3 separate regions of the Homo sapiens genome follow, and all the other regions are linked to region 3. Evidence: promoter capture Hi-C in human tissues and cell types (Jung and others, 2019). All regions are on one chromosome and are shown on one strand. Each heading gives the region's core, a stretch centred on a gene start or on the middle of the fragment in contact. The rest is flanking DNA. Distances are from core to core; before and after follow the strand shown.

What was found. Contacts are between HindIII fragments. The study calls those that stand out against the background at their distance.
Region 1: a fragment that was not itself captured here is called in contact with the fragment with the promoter of LRRN2 in region 3 in 2 of the 25 tissues and cell types used here (bladder and pancreas).
Region 2: a contact is called between a fragment that was not itself captured here and the fragment with the promoter of LRRN2 in region 3, in 4 of the 25 tissues and cell types used here (H1 embryonic stem cells, heart left ventricle, liver and 1 more).

What each region holds. Positions count from the first base shown.
Region 1 is chr1:204,727,129-204,731,079 of GRCh38, reverse strand. LOC105371695 (a long non-coding RNA gene) reads left to right here. Exons shown (of 5, transcript XR_922456.3): 1 at 1-514. The region is part of intron 1 of LOC105371694 (a long non-coding RNA gene); the gene reads right to left. It also overlaps the pseudogene LOC124900453. Among named protein-coding and RNA genes, the nearest start is that of LRRN2, 43 kb to the right of the region's middle. The HindIII fragment of the contact is 5,503 bases long and covers 1-3,951 here.
Region 2 is chr1:204,746,069-204,749,920 of GRCh38, reverse strand. No RefSeq gene overlaps it. Among named protein-coding and RNA genes, the nearest start is that of LRRN2, 62 kb to the right of the region's middle. RefSeq lists a silencer at 2,820-2,909. The HindIII fragment of the contact is 5,126 bases long and covers 1-3,852 here.
Region 3 is chr1:204,683,802-204,687,292 of GRCh38, reverse strand. LRRN2 (leucine rich repeat neuronal 2) reads left to right here and starts at 1,555. Exons shown (of 2, transcript NM_201630.2): 1 at 1,555-1,973. The HindIII fragment of the contact is 8,916 bases long and covers 1-3,491 here.

The DNA.
Region 1 (3,951 bases), core at 1,414-3,913, 43 kb before region 3:
GCTCGGCTGGAAGGTGAAGGGATTCCAGATGCCGGTTCCTGGCTTGCTCCCCGCTCTCCATTTGGCTTCATCCTGGGGCTCTCTTCCTCCCCACAGAGGGGTGGTGGGCACTCTGTGCCACACCTCTCCTCTCTGGGATCTCAGGTCTGTCCCTGAAACCTGCTGGTAGAAGAACCTCTAGAGTCCTTGCCTCCTTCCCACCGTGTGACCATTGCCCATTGGCACATCTGTCAAGACACAGATTTTTGGAAGAAAAAAGAAAGAGTGAATGCTGCAGAGATGGATTGTTAATTTTCCAAATGAGATATGACTCTGAGATCCCACCTACCCAGCTGGTAGGACGTTCCACCATGCTCCCTAAGGTGGTTTGAGTGTTTGGAATGACAAAGACTCTCTCATCACCCTGAAACCTTAGTCCGGCGGCGCCTCTGAGTCTTCTGCTTGACGAGGCCTGACCTTGGGCTTCCCCATGTCCTTTCAGAATCCAGTTTGAGCAAGAATCCTGCTAAGTCAGGTTAGTGAAATTTCCCCACTCTTGTTATCTGACTATCCTCAATATTTTATCACCCCTGCCTGCATTCAGCAATGATCCTGTCAAGTCAGTTTAGCCAGAAACCCCTTACCCTTGATGTTTCTTCCTAGTAATTTTCCATCCTCTGTCCTTAACCCTGACCATTGGTTGATTACAAATCTCCACTTGCCCTTGTTGGAGTTGAAACTGAGCCTGATCTCTCTCCCCCACCATAAGACATCTTTGCAGTGGCCCCTATACCTACTGCCATGGCCTCCCTTGAATAAAGTCTGCCTTGCCATCTTTAACACACGTTTGGATAATTCTTTTCTTTTTTCTTTTTTTTTTTTTAGTTGGAGTCTTGCTCTGTTGCCCAGGCTGGAGTGTGGTGGCTCAATCTCAGTTCACTGTAACCTCCATCTCCCAGGTTCAACCGATTCTCCTGCCTCAGCCTCCTGAGTAGCTGGGAATACAGGCGGGTGCCACCACTCCCGGCTACTTTTTTGTATTTTTAGTAGAGATGGGATTTCACCATCTTAGCCAGGATGGTCTCAATCTCCTGACCTCGTGATCCGCCCACCTCGGCCTTCCAAAGTGCTGGCGTGAGCCACTGCACCCGGCCAATTTTTTTCTTTAACAGGGTGGTCACTCAATTTGCAGAGCTTGGAGAAAGGCTTCTGCTCATTGTCTGAACCTATAGGGTCCCTTCGAGGAGGTCAGGGCTGTTCACAATCTATTCTCCTCCATGCTAACTTGGCCATCATCCCCCAGACCCCAGAAGGGGTTCTGTTGTGTCCTGGGTGGCTGTGTGGGCATGGAGCGCAGGTCTTCACCCCCACACACGCCGCCTCGTCACTCACTCCCCCACATTCTGCCACAGGATTCAACCCACTCCCCAGTTCCAGGTCAGCAGCAGCCTCCCTCCCCTCTCTTGTGGAGCCAAATCCTCCTCAGCATGGTAAGGTGGGCTTTGTTTTGTTTTGTCTTTTTAAATTACAGTGGAAGCATGGAGAAGCTGTTAACTCCACCCGCGTGAGAAGAGCCTAAATCTAGTACGCAGCTAGGACAGTCTTCCCTGAATGGAGTTGGGGTGAAGTTGGAAGTAGCTCTCATTCTTTTGTGACAAATCCATAGTCAGGAAAATGGACACAGTTAATATCTCTTCTCATTATCCTACTGCGCTGCCATTTACAGGTAGCTCTGAATTTGCAGTCCTCACTATTCCTATCACAAGACAGTTATTATTAGCCACACTTTACATGTGAAGAGGCTTGGAGAAATTAAAAAAAAAAAAAACTTGCCTAAGGGCACACAAGTATGAGTGACAGAGTGGAGAGGGATTCAAACCCAGGCCTGACTGAAGGCTGTTGCCACTATTCCAGCCACCACTGAGTGGACTTAATGAGTGATCTCTACCAAAGGTATTTGCATGGATTGTCAAAGCTTTGGAAAGGCTATAAGGAAAGAAATGCCCAAGTAAATTCTTCAGGGGTCAGTGGAGTGGGTGGGGATCTATATTCTGGAGGCAGCCTCCAGAGTCTTTCACATTTCCACCAGGTCAAAAAATAAATAAGAAGCAGCATAAACAAATATTGAACTCTAATTAACAATATGATATTGAAGTATTTAGAGGTTAAAGTGTACCAAAGTCTGTAACTTTGAAATGTGTCCACAATATAAGAAAAGACTGGTGGATGGATAGATGAACAGATTTGGGGTAAAGCAAATATAGCAAAATGTTAGTTATAGAATCTAGATTGTGGGCATATGGTTGTTCACTGTGCAATTCTTTAAACTCTTCTGAATTTTTACATTTTTCGTAATAACATATTGAGGGGAAATAAATCACACAGGTGGGTCACACCCATCTCTTGTTATACAATGCCAGGCTGGAGGGGAGCTTAATCATTAGTCACCGAGTTCTTTCCCAAGTGTCCTGCAGGAAGAGTGCTGGACTAGACATTTGAAGACACAGAATAACAAACAGGTAGTCCCTGCTTGGTGGAAATTTAGGATACCTGTGACAAAATAGGACGGAATCATAAAATCAACAGTCATAAAGACAGTGAGCTCTTTATTTTCTGCTTTAATGGAGGGGGAGCAAATTGCCTGACTATACATGTCCAAACGCCTTTTCTTTTTTACTTTGATGCATGGGAAGGCTCACCACACTTAAAGAGACAGAAACGGGCAGTAAGAGAAAGTGGCCCAAAAGCACTTAGTGGGTTACAGAAGGTCCCCAGTGGAGAATCCACCTGCAGGTCCCAGAAGGTGTGTTGAGGAGCAGGAGGGGCACCTTTTGTGGCAGGTGGGTTTAGTGGAAAGTTCAGGGGATTTGGAACCATGCCAGGACCAACTCTGCCGATCTAGATGAACTTGAACAAGTCACTGTTCTCTTTGAAGCTTAATTTCCTCTTTTGTTGCCTATAGGCCAAATTCTGCCTAGGGCTTGTTTTTATTTTTCACATCTGAGGCAGGAAAGCAAGGCAATTCTGATGACAGTCCTCAAAGGCTGATCTTGGCCTCCAGCCTTAGCTGCGAAGAACAGGGACCCCACACAGCCCATGGGAGAAAGGCGCCTAGGGCTTGTTTTTATATGGCCTGTGAGTTAATGGGTTTTTTAAAAATATTTTTCAATGGTTGGAAAAAATCAAGAGAAGAATAACATTTTGTGAGATGTAAAATTATATATAATTCAAATTTCAGAGCCCATAAATAAAGTTTATTGGAAAATGGCCAAACTCATTTGTTTACGTATTGTCTGTGGCAGCTCTCAATCAATAATAACCAGGTAGTTGCAACAGAGACCTTATGGCCTGCAAAGCCTCAAATATTTAGTCTCTATGCCTTTATTTGTTTATTTATTTTATTTTAACTGTTTTTTGAGACAAGATCTCACTCTGTCGCCCAGGCTGAAGTGCAGTGATGCAATCTTGGCTCACTGCAGCCTCGAACTCCTGGGCTCAAGCCATCCTCCCACCTCAGCCTCCCAAGTAGCTAGGACTACAGGAGTGCACCACCATGCCTGGCTAATTTTTGTATTTTTTGTAGCGTTGGGGTTTCGCCACATTGTCCAGGCTGGTCTCGAACTCCTGGGCTCAAGTGATCCTCCTGCTTCAGCCTCCCAAAGTGCTGGGATTACAGGTGTGAGCCACTGCACCCAGCCTCTACCCCTTTACAGAAACAGTTTGCCAACCTGGTGTGAAATAGTTCATCTGCAATTTAACTGCTCCACATACCTCACGTCACAGAATTGCTGTGAGAAGTAATGAGATTTGGGTTTAGTAAACTGGAAGATTCCATAAGATGCAAGGTGTTACTACTGCCCTGATTTCATTTCTCTCAATACCATCCTTACAAAGGCAGGAGAATCTACAAGGAATGTCTTATATAACAGGAAGAGAAACTAAAGTTAATAAAGGGAGACAAATGGCATGCAG
Region 2 (3,852 bases), core at 1,240-3,739, 62 kb before region 3:
CAGCCCGCTGTCAGTTCCCCTGCATGCTGACCACCTGCCTGTTTGGCTCTCCCTTGGTGCCTGCTACAGCACCTCACCATCTCACCCACACACAATGGTCAAGCACCGCTGGGACCCTCTCTTTTTCCCTTTGATAGGCCACCTATGCCCCCACACACATTCAGAGTACACGCCCTGGCTGGAATGTCTCCCACCATCCATAGCAGTGCCTGCCTACCCTCCCCCAGTAAGTGGGACTGGTTTCTCTATTCTGATCTCTCCTCCTTGGCCCCCTTTCACTGTTTACTGAGTTCTAGACTCCCATTTATTATAACAAAACTTGTTCTTTTCCTTGAGCCTGCCTGCTTATAATTCATGCCAGCCCTAGATAATGGTTCTTTTGTGCTGGTCTGCAGGAATGAACAATTCATTGATTTCAGGTAAAAAGCTGCTCTCTCTACAAGAGAATGGCTTCAATTGGGTTGTTTATTCACATGAAAAAATAGCCTTTCTCTTATCTGTATGCTATTACATTTTATTTATTCACTTAATTCATATTTATTGAGCAACTACTATATAAATCAGCTACTGTGTTAAGTGCTAAGAATATAGACGTAATTCAGGCATGGTTCTTACCATCAAAGAGCTTATAGTCTAGAAGAATGAAATGTCTTATATCAAAAGAAGTACAAAACATCATGCTAAGTGCTATTTTATTTGAAGCATAAGTAGAATAAGATTGATTTTTAAAATTATTTTTAGTACTAGGGGATATTTGACTAGACTGATGAGCCCAGGAAAGACTGGCACCCGGTGAGAGGAAGGCTTGAAAATGTTATAGGTCCCCACCTCCTAAGCAGCACCCAGAGGTGGGGGAAGGGAGCAGCTACCAGATGAGGGCAGGAAGGAGAGGAAAGAAGCTGAGGAGCCTCCAGAAGTGGATGGAAGTGAGACTATGAGCTAAATTTAAAAATAATTAAGCCCCAGGTATGTCAATCGTCATTGCTCAGCAAATGAACACTCTAACAGATAATTATTCTAGGTATCAGAAATGCATTTCATATGATCAGAAACCAAACCCAAGGAGAGAGTCCATGGAGTTAAGGAAAGATTAGTTGCTTCTCCAATGTCTTTAGAAGGCGTACAGGATGGAGTTAAGTTGCTGGAGCAGGTCAAGTGCTAAGAATCATCTTATGTGATGCAGACCAGAAAAATTAACAACAAACAATACGTAAAAACTAGGCTTCATTAAAAACAAAACCAAAGCAAAAAATCCATCCATTTGTTCTTTCTTTTAGAATCATTTAAACATTTTTTTAAATGAGGTAAAATTTATATAACATAAAATTAACCATTTTTCAGTGAACAATTGAGTGTCATTTAATACATTGACAACATTGTGCAACCACCATCTTCAGCCAGTTCCAGAACATTTTCATCATCCCCAAAGGGTCTCCATTAAGCAGTTACTCCACAGTTCTGGGCAACCACCAATCTTCTTTCCATCTGTATGGGTTTCACTATTCTGGATATTTCATACAAATGGAACCATGCAACATGTGACTTTTTGTCTGGCTTCTTTCACTTAGCATAATCATCCACATTGTAGTATGTATCAATACTTAATTCCTTTCTATGGCTGAATAATATTCCATTGTATATCTGTACCACAGTTTGTTTATCCATTCATTGCATCGATAAGGATTTGGCTAGGGTGAATAGTGCTACTATGAACATGTGTGTTCATGTATTTGTTTGAGTACTGTTTTAAATTCTTTTGTGTATAAGCTTAGAAGTAGGATTGTAGGATTATGTGATAATCCTATGTTTAACTTTTTGAGGAACCAGCCACTTATTCGTAACCAGGACATTGCTTTAGACCTGCCAAAAAATTGTAGAGAAAAAGGAAAATAGGACTTCTAGAAGCCCATTCATGGGAGGTGGAGGTATGTACTGCTGACTGGTTGTAAAACCCAATTCTTCATCTTCCTGAACACACAGCTAGGTTACATTTCCCAGCATCTCCTGCAGCTGGAGGTTGGGGGCATGTGTCTCCATTCCTGCCAGTAGAATATGAGCACAAGTCATGTGTGGTAATTTTAGGCTTGGCCCATGAAAACCACGTGCAGGCAATCCTCCATCCCCTCTCCTCTTCTGCAGGCTCCTTGTGGAGAAACCACACAATGAAGATGGAGAAGCCACCAGATGAAAAGAGCCTAGGGTTCAGAATTACCACTTGGAGGAGACCTGCCACCAGTTGGTACCATTGGTTTTAGGCTGTAAGTGAGTGAAAAAGCAACTGTTCTTGTCTGGAACCATGAGCGTTGATGAGAACTCCATCACAGCTGCTAGCATTACTTGACACTTACTCTAAAGGCAAAAGAGAAGGCCACACCTTGCTCAGAAAGACCTGATGTGTGGAGCTAGTGCAAGGGGTCAAAGACTGAGGAGAGGCCAGAAGGCCAAAGCAGCTTGAGACTGGAGTGATTTGAGCCCATGGTCTTTCTGGGTCACACCAAGAAAAAGATCCAGAGCCTGGCCTCTAGAAAGCTTAAACATTCTACCAGGCCAGTATCAGGGCCAGCCTGAGCTATGACTGGCTGTAGTGTCCTTAGCATAAGGAAAGAAATGAGGCCTCTGCACCTAGTAAATTGTTTCAATCAGGAAAATTGTGAGTTAAAAAAAAAAATGACTAGACTAAATAGACTTGAGCTTCCTTAGACTCAGAAATCTGTTGATGCTCCTCTTTTTTTATGCTTTGTTGCTTTCTTTGATAATTTCCCATCTGTCTTCTTAAGTTTCTTTAGAAATTTCCATCTGAAAACTCCAAATCAGGCTGAGTCTGATAGGGGATGGCAGAGTCAGGGCAAACTCAGGCCAGCTCTGCAGGGGGAGAAGAGCACCCCTAGAGGCTAGGTGAGGTAGTGCAGGGACTGGTGTTTCTCAATCTGTATCTTGTCTTTGGGACAGGCAATTTTTCCACCTGCAATACCAAGAGCTTCAGGCTTCTTAGCATCCCTGGCCCTGCCCCCTACATGGCAGTAGAGGCCCAGTTGTGACAGCCACAACTCTCCTAGGCATTTCCAAACACTCCTAGGCAGGGCCAGTACCTTAAACCCAGGTTGAGAACCAGTGAATGGAAGATGGGAAGACTAGATAAAAATAGAAAATTTAGAAATCTAAAGACCATAAGGGACTCCTGAAATGTGCCCTACCTTCCTCAAAGCAGGGCTGTTCTGTAGCACCCTCATAAAGACTGTCTCCTCTTTTTATTTTTGTTTTGTTTTGTTGGTTGGGTTTTGTTTTGTTTTTGTCTTTTGTTTTGAAAGAGGGTCTTGCTCTGTCACCCAGGCTGGAGTGCAGTGGCGTGATCATAGCTCACTGTAACCACAATCTCCTAGGCTCAAGCAATCCTTCTGCCTCAGCCTCCTGAGTAGCCGGGACCACAGGCGTGCCCCACCATGCCTGGCTATTTTTAATTTTTTGTTTGTTTGTTTGTTTTTGTTTTTGTAGAGACAGGGTCCCCCTATGTTGCTCAGGCTAGTCTCAAACTCCTGGGCTCAGGTGATTCGCCCACTTCAGCATCCCAAAGGGCTGGGATTACAGTCATGAGCCACTGCATATGGCCTCTCTCTCTCTTTCTCTTAAGTTTCTCTCTAGACCACTCCATCCTCCTTGTTGTTCACTCAGTTAACAACCAGTTACTCCCTGTCCCCAGTGTGGATCAAAATTTTCTGATTTTCAGCCAGGTGCAGTGGCTCACGCCTGTAATCCCAGCATTTTGGGAGGCTGAGGTGGGCAGATGGCTTGAGCTCAGGAGTTTGAGACCAACCTGGGCAACATAGTGAGACTTCATCTCTACAAAAAATACAA
Region 3 (3,491 bases), core at 306-2,805:
TTGGGCTACTGCCTTAAACGATCTGGGCCTCCATCCCCCGGTCTGTTAAAAGGGGATATTAGTCAACTCAGAGTCTAAGATGACAGAGATGAGAAAAGGCTGGCATCTAATAGTAGCTCTATAATTTTCCTCCCTTGCCCCCTACCCTCCAGACAACCCATTCTACTCTGCTTGTCTCCACTTTCCTGCCTTTGCTGGTCCCCATATTCTCTTCCAGTTCAAATCCTATCCCTCCAACTAGGCTCAGTTGGAGACTCAGCTCCTCCGTTAAACCTTTTGTGAATAATGCTAGTCCATTAAGGTGGTTTCTTTTTGTATTTCTATGGCACTTCCATCGTCTTGAAATATTAAAATTGGTTTCATATAGTTCCAACCTGTCACTCTGAGCTCCTTGAGGCCATTATGCTCCGTAGCAGGGGTGGAGAGTGGGAACATGGGGGTGGTTTAGTGGGAACTTAATATGTGCTCATTCAATATATGAAGGTGAGAATCCCCTCTGTGCATACAGAACTCAGACCTTCAAGCCAACTTCACAAAAGCCACCAGGCATGGCAGTCACCACTGGCTGTACCCTTGGAAAAGACAGGGCCAGAAGCTCAAGCACTGGATGACGGCAGGCAGCCCAGGGAAGCCACTCCTCACAGGACTCCACACCTTGGCCTCCACCTCATCCATTCCCCTGTTGTTGGTTCTGCAGGCTCTGGTCCAGACCCATCAGTAGGGTGTGGCCTGCCATGGAGCCGAGTTTGTGATGTCTGTTCTGAGTGGTCCAGGCTGAAGTCCCCACCAAGGCATGGGTGTTGGGCATTGGGCCTTTGCCCTCCTCTAGTGGCAGTCACCCAGCTTTTCTAAGCCACCAGGCAGCAGCCTAGCACCCACCTTTGGCACCTTCTTACTTTCCTCCCCCAGTCTTCATGATGTCCAGCTGGCAGAGTGGGGAACCCTGAAGCCAAACCCCTAACTGGGCCTGCCAGTTCCTGACTGAAATTGACCTCCTTCATTGAGAGCCAGGACGGAATCTTCCAGAATGCTAGAGCTGCACGGCTCAGGATGCAATGCTGGAAAAGCATGACAACTAAAGGGGTCTTCCACTCCATTCTTTAGGGTGAGAGGTGCCTGGGCCCAGTGACAAATTCTCACCCACCCCACTACATTCCTTAGTCCACTGTTAACTTCGGGAGGGTAGCACCATGCAAAGCAAAAATGTGATCTTAGGTGCATGCTGTGACTGTGAGCTGCACCTGTCCTCACAAAGCTGCTGAATTCCCCATTCGTCTCCTGGCCTTTGCAAGAGGGTCCGAGGCAGTATGAGAGAAGCCAACCCTTCTCTTCCCGGACCCAAGGGCTGTGCCCCTTCTCTCAGCCAAGCCTTGTGTCTCTAGGCACAAGGACAGCTCAAGCGTTAGCGTCTGGCCCCACCCAACTCCTTCCTCCCGGGTGTGTGTGCGTTAGGTAGAGGGGGCCTCTGGCCACTCAGGAGTTAAAATGGCAGCGGGACTGGAGGGGGTTGGCGTGGCATGCAGACTGGGAGGAGGCGACCGGAGTGGGCTGGGGAGGTTGGGAGAGCGGCGGAGAAGCGAGTGAGGAGGGCGAGCGCGAAGCCGGGAAGAGGGGCGCGCGTGGAGGGGGTGCCGGGCGCCGCGAGGGCCTGCTCCGGGCACCTGCGAACGCGCGGCGCTCTCAAGGAGCGCCTGGCTCTCGCCCGCCAGCCTCCGGCCGCGACGCGCCCAGGGCGCGGAGAGGGGGTGGGGACGGATTGGGATTCTGCCATCGCCCTCACCGGCTGGGCCCTGGAGCCGCTCCCAGGATAACTCCACGTTGGGGAGGGCGCCCGCCGAGCCTCCCCGGCCTGTGCAGACGGCGCGCGCGGCGGGAGGGCGCGGACCAGCGTCCCCAGCCCGGCCCCGGGCGGAAGGCGAGCGGAGCGCGGCCGCGCGGGCAGCAGACGGCAGACGGTGCCCGGCGCCCACGGGGTGAGTGTGCAGCTTCGGGGCTGACCTGGGCAGCGCCGCCGCCGCCGGGGAATCGTGGACACCGAGGTCGCTGGCGTGGCCGAGGCGTACGCGGCGGGAGCGGCCGGAGCAGCCGCCTCAGGGCTCCTGGCTCCTGCCCCGGCACCGCAGCTCCGCCTGACCCGGGTGGGGGCCAGAGGAGGGCCGGCCGCTGCCTTCCGCCGAGACGCCTGCGGGGGAGCCGGAGACTTGGGAGAGGGAGGCGGCCGAGGGGCAGAGGGACGGAGGGCTGGAGAATGCCCAGAAGCGGCCAGGGAGAGGGCGCCTGGGCCTTCGCCTGGAGAGGCCAGAACCTCCCCCAAACTGTTGCTGGGTAGAGTGGGGCCCTGGAGATGTGGAGGAGCCGAGAGGTGGCAGTGAGGTTAGGGAGGGCGTGACACGGGCGGACTGGCAGGCTGGAAGCGCTCCAGAGCCTGGGGACTTTCTCCTCCTTGGAGCTCGCGAGTCTGTGCGGAGGGACAAGGTGGCCTTGGGTCTGTCTGAAGTATCTGGAACCAGGAGCTAGGCTCCTCCCGGGCCGGCTGGCTGGGGTCCGACCGCAGCCTGGGATGGGACCTTTGGGGTGGGGGATGGGCCGGCCTGGGGCTCAGCCTGGGGACTCGGTCAGGGGGAAGCGGAAACGGAAGGGTGGCTCTGAGCCCACCGCAGGACCCAGGAGACAGGATGGGCTGGCCAGCCACAGGTGGGCCGTCTGTCCTGCTGGCAAAGGGTGGCGCAGGCTCTGGCTGCCCAGCCGGCGAGGAGCCGCGGGGTGAGGGAACTGAGCTCCATCTGGGGCCGAGCGGAGAAGCTAAAGAGGTGCAGGAGACCCGGAACCTGGGGAGGGGCCCCGGGGGTAGCACTGTGCTCCCTACCCTTCCTCCCCCACCCAAACGAACAGGAAGGAAAATGTCAGCTGGGCTTTGTGCTCTGTTCCTCAGGCTGCCGCAGCTCCCATCTGTTGGAGCCAACGCAGCTTCTAACTGGGCGACTGGCAGGGTTGGAGGGGGTGGGCTGGGCACAGCGCTCAGTTGCCAGAGATGGACTGACAGGCCCTCTGCTTGAGAACTCCAGGACCTAGGGTGGTGAGGAGAACAGCCTCCCTAGGTCAGGGCAGTAGAGGTGACTCCCTGCCAGTTTGGTCACTGTCATAGGGGAAGATGTAGGTCTCCCCATGCACCCAGGCCGATGGCAGGCTCCGTGCCCCCCTTTCCCGCCAGTCTAGGATGGGCTCTGGCCCAGCGTTTTGTCCCTGAATAAGAAGGCCAGGAGCTCCTCCCATTGCCCACTGCTTCTTAAAGATCCCTTCAAAAAAGAGCACTGGGCATGGAGGGTAGAGGTGGGCTCTGCACTGGGCACTGGAGCCCCCTTGCCTTTGGGCCCTGTGGCTACCAGAAAAAGCCACATGTGGGTGGCCTGACCCACTTTCCTGGCCAGGTGCTGTTGTGGCGAAACGATGGAAACAGAAGGGCAGAGCTAGGGATCTGAGCCTCCTAGGCC